2 separate regions of the Homo sapiens genome follow, and region 1 is linked to region 2. The links are contacts of gene promoters, found by promoter capture Hi-C in blood cells and fetal thymus (Javierre and others, 2016). All regions are on one chromosome and are shown on one strand. The core of a region is centred on a gene start or on the middle of the fragment in contact, and the rest is flanking DNA. Distances in the headings are between cores, read along the strand shown. Region 1 holds the start of EEIG2 (EEIG family member 2). Region 2 holds the start of TMEM167B (transmembrane protein 167B).

Region 1 (6,654 bases), core at 2,106-4,605, 530 kb before region 2:
TTTGAATTCGACAGTCTGCTGACCTCAACCCCTTCAGCCCTTCCACAGATTTCAGAAGCAGTGAAGTGCCTGAATGAAATCCCTTTTTTTTTTTTTTTTTGAAACATCCAGAGTGGTTTCAGCTTCCTATGGTGAACCCTGACTGTATCCTTTGTGTGCTAGTGGCTTTCCATCCCCTTACCTCCAACCATTCTCTACCTTTCAGTGCCCTACTTTGTGCCCCAGGAGTCTGTCCTGTATGAACTGCATGTTCCGAGCCCCTCTACCCTCTGGCCTTGGTTGGTTTTGGATCATGGGAAGCACCACCAAGAGATCAGAAAGTAGGAGGTGAGAGAAATCAGGATATTTATCCCTTCTTCCTTTCAACTTCTCACCAGACTGTGGGTCCCTTACCCTGTCAACTCTGTGAAGAGTCCTTTCATTAAATTTTCCCCATTTAAACACATTGAATATGATATCTGTTTCCTGCCTTGACTATGACTCCTATCAGGGGTTTAATAATCAAACCATGAGTCTAAAAAACAGTAACAGACTGTCTCCTATCTTCCATTTTATAAAGTAGAAGAGCTTTACAAAATGTAAATCTGAATATATCATGCTTCTTCTTTAAAACTTCAATGGCTCTTTGTTAACCCCTGTCACTGTACCCAACTCTAAGTTGCAGCCAGACAGAACTAATTTCAGTTCCCTCTGCAACATGGTCTCTCTTCCTTTGAGCCTCTGCACAGACACTACCTCCTTCCTGGAAACTGCTCCCCACCCATGCTCATTATTCAGGCCTCAGCTTAAAGGCCTGAATTCAGGCTTCACTTACCCTAGAAGGCATTCCATAAACCTACTACTTATCCCTGTTAGCTTTTATAGTCTCCCACAGCAGTCTCCACTCACCATCATACACAGACAGCACTCAGTGTTACATTGTACTGCAACTGCCTGCTTACTTCTCTGTGTCCTCCAGTAGACCGTGAGATCTAAGACAGGGACGGCATTTCAAATCCATAGGACCTATTAAGGTGCTTGGCACCTAATAGACACTCAATAAATATTGGATAGTTCCTGAATGTTATTGAAAAAGATTGAACTGTCCTCCTCTGGTCACCATTCTCTCTCTCTTTTCATTCGCTGACAAAAAAATCAGAAAAACATCAATAAAAATATAATTTTTATTTACCCACATTACTTTGTCACTATCTTACTTTTCACTGTCATCTTTTCACTTACTTTGTCACTTTTCATCTTACTTTGTCACTATCTTTTATGATGACTTCTCTTGCCAAGATTACCAATGACCTCCTAGACCTTCAATTCAGTAGCTTCTTTTCAGTCCAAATCCTCTGGGACTGCTCTGCAGCACTCTCTTGAAATGGTCCTCTGTCCTACATGGATCACAGATTGCTCTCTCTCTTTCTTTCTCTCTCTCTTCTCTCTCTCACACACACATACTCACATACCACACACACACACTTTAGTTGATCTGTTTGCATATCTCTGTTTTTCTCCATTCCTTTATAAGCCCCTATGTCTTATTCATTTGCATCTCTAGTACCCAGCATAGTGCCTGGCACACAATAGAACTTTGTAACTACGAATGTTACATGATTAAAACCGTCTGGGCTTCCAGGCCATCTCTTTCTTCATCTCCTTTTTCTCTTGACTGCTTGTTCTTAGGCACCTTCACGATCTCCTCTTTGCCTACCCTTTAAATATTCTTCAGAGTAACTCATCCTTATCCACCTTTTGGGCTTCAGCCATCAGCGATTACCTCAATTCCCAAATGTATATTTTCAATTGCCAATGCATTTTTATGAGCTAAGGCTGCCTCTCTCTCCCTAGATGTACTGCAAGCAGATCCCATAAAGACTCATTATCTCTTCCATTCCCAACCTGCCCTCCTCTTGCTTTCAATGTTCAGTCAATGAAATTAACATTCATCCAGTGCTCTAAATGACAAATCTCAAAGTCCCCAAATGCATCTCACTGTCTTTGCCCCCTGTCCTGCAGGGTAAGAAGCTTTATCCATTACCAAATCCCCACCCCCGAACCTGCCTCTGAATCTTTTTTTTTTTTTAATTTATTTCTCCTAGAACAACTTACCCCACTTTGTCCCAAATCATTTTCATCCTTTGAAATTCAGAAAACTGATTAACTTCAATTAATTGCTTCTCTGAGTTCTACATAGCTTGGTGCTAGGTTGTGTTTTTTTAATGACCTGTCTAAACATGTCTTCCTCACTAGATTGTAAAATTCTTGAGGGCAGTTATTGGCTTTTGGTTATGGGGTCTAGCCGATGATTGACATTTTAAGCAATTTTTTTATATGAATGAATGAGTAAACGAGTAAACTGAGAAAGAAAATATTTTCAATTAAACCCTTTCAGAATTACTGTGGCAGAATCTGAGTGAAAATGACAATAACTCAGTTTAAAAACATGAACATCACGTAACCAACTTTGTAACATTCATTGTAACAATACATGCATGATTACAGAAGGCAGGTAATTGTTATTCCCCTAGGGAGATTTTTTTTTAAGCCTGCTCTGAAGATTTTGTTTTGTTTTTAAGACAGGGGCTTGTTCTGTTGCCCAGGCTAGAGTGCAGTGGCGCGATCTCCGATCATTGCAAGCTCCGCTTCCCCGGCTCAGGCTAACCTCCCTCCTCAGCCTCCCGAGTAGCTGGGATTACAGCGTAGCCATGCCAGACTGCCTGCAGAATTTGATTTTAAGCATTTCAGTTCTCAGTATAGACAGACAAATTTTTAAAGGGAGGGTATTATTTTAACTGCTTCTTTGCTCTTTTATCTTTTGTCCTGGGTGACAGGAACTAGATAAGCTATACCCCAGAGAAAGCGCCTGCAGCAGTACGGTGCCTGGGCCCTTGATAGTCCCTCAGCACATCATTTTCCTTTTTCCTACCTTATCTTCCTTTTATATTTGAAGGCTCGTGAATTTAGAGTACCTAACGGAAATTTTAGTTTTAGGATTTCAATTTGACCAAAACAACGCTGAGATTTTAATTGCCTCTATTAACCCATGGCTCTCAAACCCAAAGGAAAGAAACCACTGGAGGGGGTGGGGGAGAAAGGAGGCGGTGCAAAAACTGAAAAGAAAGGCGGAGAGGAAGCGGTAGAAGGAAGCTTTCTCTGTCGGGTTTGTCTTTTTTTAACCCCAGAAAGGCGTGACGTGCTAACTGCCGTCGCGGGTTAGAGTCCGCGGCCAAGCCCGCGCCCGCCCACAAAGTCCCCGCCCTCCCTCCGGCTTCCGCCCCGCCGTGCGCTGCAGGCCGCGGCCGCTGGGGGCGCCCCCGACCCCCGAGGCGCTGAGGCGGCGGTTCCTCGAGCCTCGCCTCTCCCGACTCCCAGACGGGCGGCAGCGGCGGCGGAGGCGGCGGCGGCGGCGGCGGCGAGCTGAGCACCAAAAGGGCGCTCACCTCCCCGGGCGAGCTGCAGCACGACCGCTCCCCGCGGGCGGTCGGGGTCCGCGCCGCAGCTGCCGCCGCGTTCCGGCCCAGGCTGCCGCGAGAGGCGGCGGCAGCGGCCCCGGCCGCGGCCGGCCTGCGGCGCCCCCCGGCCGCGCCCCCGCGCACAGCTCGCGGCCCCGGCCATGGGGCTGGGCTGATCCGGGGCTCGGCCAAGCTGAGGCGGCGGCGCCCGGCCGTGCGCCCAGCTTGCAGGCGCCTGGCTCTCACGATGATGAAGAAGAAGAAGTTTAAGTTTAAGGTGGACTTCGAGCTCGAGGAGCTCTCCTCAGTGCCCTTCGTCAATGGGGTCCTCTTCTGCAAGATGCGGCTGCTGGACGGCGGCAGCTTCACCGCCGAGTCCTCCAGGTAACTCGCCTCCCGCGCCGCCTCGCCCCTTTCTGCTTGGCCAGGGCTTGTTGGATGGGCAGCATCTCTCCTTGGCCCATTTGCTCGCCTTTCCCTAGGGACCGCTCTAAAATCAGTCGAATTTATTGATCTGCAAAGTGCTTTGCAAATGGGTTCTTCTCAGCTGGCCTTGGTTCCTGCGCTCCTGACTCCAGATGGTGCCTGGTATCTGCTCTTCCCTCCCAAATCCTCTAGGAATGGGAGCAATGGCCAGAGAGGGAGGATGCTTCTGTTTTCTCTTAAGACATTTCCATATTTGTGAAATGCAAAGTAGAACTTGAGCTGTTAAAAACTAAAATAACCCAAACTGCAGGAGTTCCAAGAGCCCAGCTCTGAACAGAAACCTGTGCTTAGCACAATTCCTTCTCCCTTGTAGATTACAAGGGGACTTGGCCACCCACTCTGAGGCTGGGGTAGGCCTGGCCAGGCTTGACTTGAGTCAAGTGCTCCTGGCAGACGAGACAACGGTCTGTGCCTCATCAGAGAGCGGCGTCTCCAGTTAGGCGCTAATGCTGGATGAATTAGTCTTGAAGTGGCCACTAGTAGGTCTCCTTGTGGGAGGGCTTAGAGCCAGATGGGGAGCCCAGGCCCTGCCCTCATTTTAAAATGAGCCCCTGGGCACTCCCAGAGAGAGGCATTAGCAGGTTACAGAATGAAGCTATTAAATAATAGGTGTGGCATTAATAATAGGTGTGGCAGTGTTTCTTGAGTAATTTCAGAGCTACTCACAGGTTGACAGATGTACCCTAAGGTGCTTTCTTTAAAATATATACATAGAGAGAGAAAACAATTTTTTAAATGAACTTTTGAGTTCCTGAGATCAAGAAGGGTTAAAAGTTAATGTTATTTTGCCCATATATACTGGTCTTAGGCTTTATTTCTGCCCTAAAAATATTCTACTTAAAAAAAATTCCGTCATCCCATTTATAGTATAAAGGAAATAATGTCACTGGATTGTGGAATTGGGGCTAGAAACTTGTCTTTGGGGCAATATTGAAGCCTATGGAAGCCAGAAAATGTCTAGTTGGCTAAACCAAAGGATATATGAAATTAATAGTTTGCCGAAGACAGTTTTTAAAATTAAACTGTGGTGACACATCAGTGGATATTCAGCTAAGTATTTTAAACACCTGTAAGAGAAGAATGTAACCTATTTTGGTGCAAAAAAAATATTGGACCATCTCTTACTTGTTGAAAAGCCTAAGCCGATTCGTGAAGGTCCTGTTGGTGCAGGTGACAGTCTTGCCCTGAGGCCTAGACTGTTTTGCTGCAGGGTGCCACCCCCGACGCCAGGCAGTTAGACTGGCGCTCCTGGGCCAGTGGTGACACCTGGTGGTCAGGGCACTTGTCTACGGGGCTTCCTTCCTACCTCAGTTATGTTTATTTGGCTTACTTCCCACAAGTCACTTATTCTTTCGTTGTAGGCAGTCATTTATTCAGCAAATATGTGTTGGCTTCTAAATATATTATCTTATTTAATTCTCATAGCAAGTCTATAAGGTAGGGGTTCCATTTCGTAGATAAATAAACTGAGGCTCAGAAAGCATAACTAACTTTCCTAAGGTCCCCTCAGCTGGTAAGTGCGATGCCAAGATTCTGATCAGGTCTGTGTAACTTCAAACAGGGTGGTGCCAGATAAAGGAATAAATCGTGTGCCATATATGAAAGTTTCTGAATAGGGAGCTTCCTAATGACTTTAATGAGCAAGGGGTATACTCCGCAAGACTTAGAAATGAAAAAGTTGAGTATCTTGGGTTAAACTCACCCCTTTTTCTTCCAATTAAAATTTGACTTTGATCAATTTGATTTTAAGTAAGATTAGGAATAGTGCTCTGTGTAGCCAAACCAAAAAGCCATATAGTATGGGGGAAATGACTCACAATAAGGAGCCTGTGCCTTTGACATTAGGTAGAGATAGTTGGTGTAAAGCTAAGAGCAAGGATTTGGAATGCGGTGAGTCTAAGCCTAAACCCCAGTTCCACTGTGGTAAACCTGGATGGGTTACTTAGAGTCCCAAAACTTCTGTATGTAAAATAGAAACCATCACTGACATGTGGTGGTGTGAGGATTTAGTGAGATGATGTGCCCAAAACACCTAAACAGTGCCTTAGCACCCAGTTGGCATTTAAAGAGGAGACCAGGAACTTGTCCAAGAAGGTCCATTTGCTTGAGATGTTATATTTGATTCCTTTATCCTAACAACTACAAAATTGTTGGTTTGAGAAAGAGACCTCATTTTACAAGAAAAAAAAAAAAGAAAATCTGAAATATCTAAAGGAAGTGAATTATTTCAAAATCACAGAACTTTTAATTAGTGGGTGCCAGTCAAGGCAGTGCATCTCTAATTGAACGCTAGATTTTAACTTCTAAAAAATTGCTGTATGTGCCCCTTAAAAGTCAGGTGTAGTTAACACTGTAACATTTCTCCTGTAAAAATATGAAATGAATTACATAGAAAAGAGGTAATATAGCAGGCCCAAGACTGCTATTCTTAGAAAGGCCTATGTACAAGGCTGGCCCTTGGCTGGCATCTGGGAGCTTGAATGGTAAATGGTTCCATACATGATACAAAACTTTACGTAAATGATAAGAGTGGCTCACTGTGCCTAGACTGTACGGAGTGGTTTATGCTAAATTCCATCTGGAATTTTGGTTCTTGCTAGGCAGCCTACGTGACCAGCCCTAATACAAATTTTGGGCATTGAGTCTCTAATGAGTTTCCCTGGTAGACAGCACATCACAATTTAATTCTAGAGAAGTTAAGTGTGTGCTGATTCGACTTTGTATCTTTTCA
Region 2 (6,582 bases), core at 543-3,042:
TTGAACTCCTGACCTCAGGTAATCCGCCTGCCTCGGCCTCCCAAAGTGCTGGGATTACAGGCGTGAGCCGCGCCCGGCCAGCTGCTGCTGTTTTAGACAATGGTTGATGAAGGATTCGAAGGCCTAAACAATAGAGCTTTTGTTCTGTTTTGTTTTTGAGTGGTCCTGAACAGTTCTTTTGGGCAGGGGAATTTGTCTGTGTGTGAATGTGCAAACATATATATAATCTGAGTGGCTGCCTGGCCTTGTCCTAGGTTTTGTCCCGTATATACGCCGTCTTTTTTTTTTTTTCTTTCTGCATGTATGTATATTTTCTCAAGGCATCTGTCCTGCACTAGACTTTGGCTTGTCTTTCCAGGCCAGCTTCCAGAGGATGCTTTGGCAGTTTTCCCTCTGGGTAACCAAGCAGGCTGCAGCCAGCAGATGGCACTGCAGCAGAAAGGGGCAGAGTCCCTTTAGGCCCTTGACAAGCACGGCGGATTAGTAACCGTATAATTTAACCCTCCAGTTAGCCTTGGAGGACTCGGTGTCGCACTTCCGCCCGAACTCTAATAAAGCGGGCCGAGTTGTGTGCAATTAAGGATTTCAGTATGCAAATCTGAATCTGTACTTTTGTCTCCTCCACCCCACCCCCATCATTAGACTGGCAATGTCTTTTGTCACGTTGTCAAAGTGTCCTCAGAGAAGCGGTGTCTAGATATCGCCGATTTCTGGTTAAAGTGGCTGAAGTGATCCCAGCATTAATTAAATGCAGGAGAATCGAGATTCTCCTGATAGTTTAAGGAAAAGAAAAATTCACACAAGCAAACGGGCAACCCTTTGAATGTTTTCCGACGACGTGGTGCTTTAGGATCTGAAAGATGCGACTTGGTTTTTGTTGTTGTTGTTGTTGTTGTTGTTGTTTTTGAGACGGAGTTTCCGCTCTTGTTGCCCAGGCTGGAGTGCAATGGCGCGATCTCGGCTCACCGCAACCTCCGCCTCCCAGGTTCAAGCGATTCTCCTGCCTCGGCCTCCCGAGTAGCTGGGATTACATTACAGGCATGAGCCACCATGCCCGGCTAATTTTGTATTTGTAGTAGAGACGGGGTTTCTCCATGTTGGTCAGGCTGGTCTCGAACTACGATCTCAGGTGATCCGCCTGCCTCGGCCTCCTAAAGTGCTTAGATTACAGGCATGAGCCACCGCGCCCGGCTAATTTTGTATGTTTAGTAGAGACGGGGTTTCTCCTTGTTGGTCAGGCTGGTCTCGAACTCCGACCTCAGGTGATCCGCCTGGCTCGGCCTCCCAAAGTGCTGGGATTACAGGCGTGAACCACCGCGCCCGGCCGCGACTTGTTTTTGTTACAAGGTTCCTCATTTCATTTGCAACGTTCAGACGCAGTCTGACTAGATTTCCATCCGGAGTAAGGAAGAGCAGCTCAAGGGCAGTCACGGAGGCCGCAGGTGCGGCTTCTTCACCCGCGGTGCTGGAGTTCTCTCAAGTGGAAGCCCAGGACGATGAAAACCTCATAGGTAGGCTGCTGCTTACACACAGCAGCCGCCACGGCGCAAAATAAACTACAAAACTACAAGCCTTTACCTTTTCAAACACACTGACGCGGGCCAGCCCCAGCCCTACGCCCGCAGGGGCACGCAGAAAAGACTTAGTTACCACGGCCAAGTACGAAGCCTTCGAGATAGCGTTCTTCTTACCCTACGTAAACACGCAGTTTCCCGAGCTCGACAATCGGCTAGCCACTCCTGATAGCGTTCGGCGCTCGCCTCTCGGCCCTTGCTCCTGCGTACTACGGCTTCTTCCAGTCACCTCGGCCCGGATCGGGAAGTGTCAAGCGGGCGCTCCCCCATCTCCGCCGCTATTACCACTGAACCCGGACCCCCTACCCAGGTCCAGGGCCAGCCGCCATGACGAACGGTGAGAACTGATGCCCTGAGCGGAGGGTGGGAGTGAAGGACGAAGGGAAAACGTGGCGGGCGGGGCCGGGACTGACGTGGCCGTTCTCCCCGCCCCCTCCCAGCCCGGCCCCCCTTGGCCTCTCGACGCCCCTAACTTCTGTACCCCTATACTCCTCTACGGGTTCCCCCTTCCCATATTCATCTAGGACCCCCAGTGCCTCTTATGCTCACACCTCGAGTTATCTATCCCTATGCTTTGCTTTCCCTTTTCTTTTTCTTAGTTCTTTCTGGCCCTTGGAGAGGTCAGTCCCAGAGGTACTACTGCTATTTAAACCCGGGGAAGAGAGAGGCTCCTCCTCCCAGCTCCCTGCGTTCTCATGCTTTCGGACCGTAGTTTTGTTGAGAGGGCCAATAAATGACATAGAATATCAAGTCCCACACTTTTGGGGTTGCTGGTGAATGTAGACCCCACAAAAGCTTCTTCTTACGGAAAAATACCGGAAAGATTTCTGATTTTAAAGTCCTGGCGGGGTGATCCCACGTGGAGACCCTGACTAGTGTTGCAAAGGGTGGATTTAGACACTGCCTCTTCTAGATGATGAGGCAGTTTATCTGACCTAATTTTCCAGGCCTCTTCAAACACTTTATGAATTCTGAATTCCAGAGGAGGACAGGAAGGAGGGCCTTCATGATTTTTAGTGTCAACCTTACAGGAAAGGAGAAGAGAAAGCCTTTTAGGCATTACGATGATTTGAGGGGCTCCGGAAAGCATTTCTCAAAAGTACTTTGTCCATAGACCTGGCACTGAAGACTCGAATTTAACCTCCTTGTGAATTTTGGCATTGTCTGCAGAAACTTATGAGAGAAAAGGGGTAGCACGTGAAGGTATAGTTCCTCAGAAAACCTTAGTGTATGTATTAATTTGCTGGACCCTTTCTTAGTGACAGCTTAGCTGTGAGACAGTTTTACTGGAGGAAGAGAGGTAGTGTGATCTAGAACTGGCAGACACTGGTTATATATAATATTCATTTGGAGCTTCCTGGGAAGTCAGAGGTCTCAGGATACTAGGCACAGTAAGAAAAGGGAATTTACCCAGAGGAAGACAGAATCTGAACCAGGAAGTAAGACAGCAGTTTGACACGGTAGTTGCTGAATAAATTTTAGTCATTCTTCCCCCATTTTGTGGTCCAATATCTTCTTGTTTTTTGCAATTAGGTGATTCATTGTGCTTCCCTGTACAAGAAATAAGCTTGGTTTATGTATTTAAGAAACAGAGCTAAGAAGTTAAAGCTTTCTATGTTGAAGCCTTAGATACTTTTTCTTTGTTTTAGAAAAATCTGTTATTATTCTGGCAGAAATTCGGTTTGTTAAGAGTATCATCCATAAAGTGTAAGATAATGATAGGAAAATTGTAGTCATGTGGATTCTTACTCTTGCAACTTTCATTAAGCTTAATTTTTTGCCTTAACATATTCTTCACCAACAGTTGCACATCTGACAGTTTTGGCTACATATCTAGCTCTCCTTTATCATATGAGTGATTTATAACAAGAACATGTTAAATTCTCTGTGCTGAGTCTCTAAGGATTCATATGTCTCAATCTATTGCCAACACTAGTCATTCCTGGGATGCTAATTTCTGCCCAGGATTTCTACTTCTTGAAAGGTGAGGGGAAGGACCAGTGACATTTTAGTAAAGGGGATGTAAAAAAAAAAATTTTTTTTTGAGTTGGGGTCTCACTCTGTTGCTCAGGCTACAGTGCAGTGGCATGATCGTAGTTCATTGCAGCCTCGAACTCCTGGGCTCAATTGATCCCCCTTCCTCCTACAAGCAATTTTTGGGAACAGTAAAATAATCGTGTTAGTCCCAGGATCCTGGCTCCCCCTTGTCAAGTGTCAGTACTGCCTGTTGAGGTTATTATTTTGTTATTATGTCACACACTATCTTCCTTAGAGTTCTCAGGCGGGATCACAGGTCCGACGCTAGATCAGTACCTAAGGTTTTCTTTTCTTCTTTATTTAACAGTGTACTCCTTGGATGGGATTCTGGTGTTTGGTTTGCTCTTTGTTTGCACCTGTGCCTACTTCAAGAAAGTACCTCGTCTCAAAACCTGGCTGCTATCAGAGAAGAAGGGTGTTTGGGGTGTGTTTTACAAAGGTGAGGCCATGTCTGGACAGGGAGAAGAGACTGCCATCTCTGGACAGTGTGGAGCTACAAAGTAGGGAGTACAGTGAGCTGGGATTATATTTGGTTTCATTTTTAGAAAAAAATCCCTCCGATTGGGTCTGAGAGTCTGGAAAATTAATCATTCTCCAAAGTTGAGGGAAGAGGTAAAAGTTAAAATTTGCTGGGTGTGATGGCTCATGCCTATAATCTCAGCACTTTGGGGGGCCAAGGCAGGAGGATTGCTTGTGTCCAGGAGTTGTAGATCAGCCCGGGCAACACAGTGAGACCCCATTTCTACAAAATATACAAAAATTAGCCAGGTATGGTGGCACGTGCCTGTAGTCCCAGTTACTCAGGAGACTGAGGTGGGAGGATTGCTTGAGCCTAGGAGGTTGAGGCTGCAGTGAGCCATGGTGGAGCCACTGCACTCCAGCCCAGGTGACAGGGTGAGACCCTGTCTCAAAAAAAAAAAAAATTATTTAAAAACATAATTGTCTATTTTAGCATCCAGATGATTTTTGTATTCTCCATGGAGTAAAAGTATACACATCAAATCATTTTAGGCTGGGGTGGAATTCCTCCCTTCAGTGGGAAAAAAATTTTTCTACGGAAAATTTTTCTTGATTTTCTGTAAATGGTACATTGGAGTCTGTTTTAAGGTTTGAGTTAATTAACTCAGATGCTTTTTTGTACTTTTTATTTGAGGCACATTCATTTGGAATCCTATCTACCTAAATTTTTTTTTGAAAAAGGACAAAATATAAACAAACAGTATATTCACCTAGACCCTAAAGCATAAGGATAGCATTTAGAAACATCTCAGAGGCCGGATGCGGTGGCTCATGCCTGTAATCCCAACACTTTGGGAGGCCGAGGAGGGCAGATCACCCAAGGTCAGGAGTTCGAGACCAGCCTGGCCAACATGGTGAAACCCTGTCTCTACTAAAAATACAAAAATTAGCCAGGGAGCCGGGCACGGTGGCTCACGCCTGTAATTCCAGCACTTTAGGAGGCCAAGGTGGGTGGATCACCTGAGGTCAAGAGTTCAAGACCAGCCTGGCCAAGATGGTGAAACCCCATCTCTACTAAAAATACAAAAATTAGCTGGGCATGGTGGCAGGCGCCTGTAATCTCAGCTACTCAAGAGGCTGAGGCAGGAGAATTGCTTGAACCCGGGTGGCAGAGGTTGCAGTGAGCCGAGATCGCGCCACTGCACTCCAGCCTGGCCGACAGAGTGAGACTGCCTCCAAAAATAAAATAAAAACATCCCAGGCCCTTGAGAGCGTTGATATGTCTGTCTGTGACTAGAGACTTCAAAATATCACCTTGAAAGTGAGGACTTCGGTGAAGGGCAGGGTGTGATTTCTTCTCTCTTTTGCCTGCTAGCCGCTGTGATTGGAACCAGGCTGCATGCTGCTGTGGCAATTGCTTGTGTTGTAATGGCCTTTTACGTCCTGTTTATAAAATGAATTCCAAAGCACCCAAGTCATCAACTGCCAACCAAGGGGACGGGGATGAAGAACCTGTTGGAGACCTGAACCCAGTGTAGGAGAGTTCAGCTGAAATCATCGGTCCCCAGGATGACACCACAGCATCTGCCCCTGCTATATGTGGGGAAAACTCATGGTCACGAACATTATTTATGCTTCAGGGGACTACAGAAAGCCAGCTTCCTTTGATCTATGTGTAAATCAGTCCTTGGCAGAGTGCATATAATGTCCGGATAAATTACACCCCTCGGTGATAAGATTACATACCTCCTTCATAAAAACCTGTCATCCTGTTTTGTTCTTCAGCTCCTCATCAGGATCTTTTCAAACTGAGGCTCATTAGGGAAGGAACTAGGCTGTGTTCAGACTTCTTTTGAAGAGAGAGAATTTTCAAGACTTCTTTTCACTCTTTGATTTGGATCTGGCAAATTGGGGAGGGGATGCTGGGTGGGAAACAGTTATGAAATGCCAAGAAATTCTTTGGCTTTAGAAATTTATCTTTCATGTACCCATCCGGGAACATAAAAGAGAGGCATAGTGCTCATTGCAAAAAGAGAACAGATGAAGTAGCTGTGTTATGTGCTGGTATCTTGAGAGTTTTGCCAAGAAAATCTGGGCCTACATAAAATTTGAGAATTATCTGTGTGATGAGACCAGAAAGCAGTGGCTTAGACAAGAAAAAATCTTTCTGTTCACCAGTATCCTCAAATGGAGACTTCACTTGATCAGATGGTATATGAAAAATGAATCAACTATTGCTATTTCGTAAAACCTTTTTATATTTTCTAAATTTACTTAGTGCTAAATACTGTTACTCAGTTTTAAATGCCACGACTAGGGGAAAAAGAAACTATTGAAGAAATAATTGTTTAGTATATTTGCAGTTGGGGTAGAAGAAAGAAATCTAGTATATTGATTCATATACTAGTAAATTCATCTAGTATAAGAACTTGTGATGTTAGATTGAAGTTTTGTCATCTTATAAAAGACAACAAACTTATTTTCTGTTTAAGTCTGAGTGTTATGGCAATTT

The links. Contacts are between HindIII fragments. The CHiCAGO score rates a contact against its expected background, and 5 or more counts as called.
Region 1: a contact is called between the fragment with the promoter of EEIG2 here and the fragment with the promoter of TMEM167B in region 2, in 2 of 17 cell types (non-activated CD4 T cells and total CD4 T cells). The highest score is 8.2, in non-activated CD4 T cells.

Annotation. Positions count from the first base shown.
Region 1 is chr1:108,556,745-108,563,398 of GRCh38, forward strand. EEIG2 (EEIG family member 2) reads left to right here and starts at 3,356. Exons shown (of 11, transcript NM_001010883.3): 1 at 3,356-3,821. The coding sequence starts at 3,685. RefSeq lists a silencer at 3,017-3,556 and enhancers at 3,947-4,046, 4,510-4,559. The HindIII fragment of the contact is 6,399 bases long and covers 3,131-6,654 here.
Region 2 is chr1:109,088,972-109,095,553 of GRCh38, forward strand. It overlaps TMEM167B (transmembrane protein 167B), which reads left to right and starts at 1,793. Exons shown (of 3, transcript NM_020141.4): 1 at 1,793-1,911; 2 at 3,919-4,050; 3 at 5,446-6,582. The coding sequence starts at 1,902. The coding sequence ends at 5,528. It also overlaps the pseudogene NDUFB3P1. RefSeq lists an enhancer at 1,427-1,626. The HindIII fragment of the contact is 3,338 bases long and covers 1-2,367 here.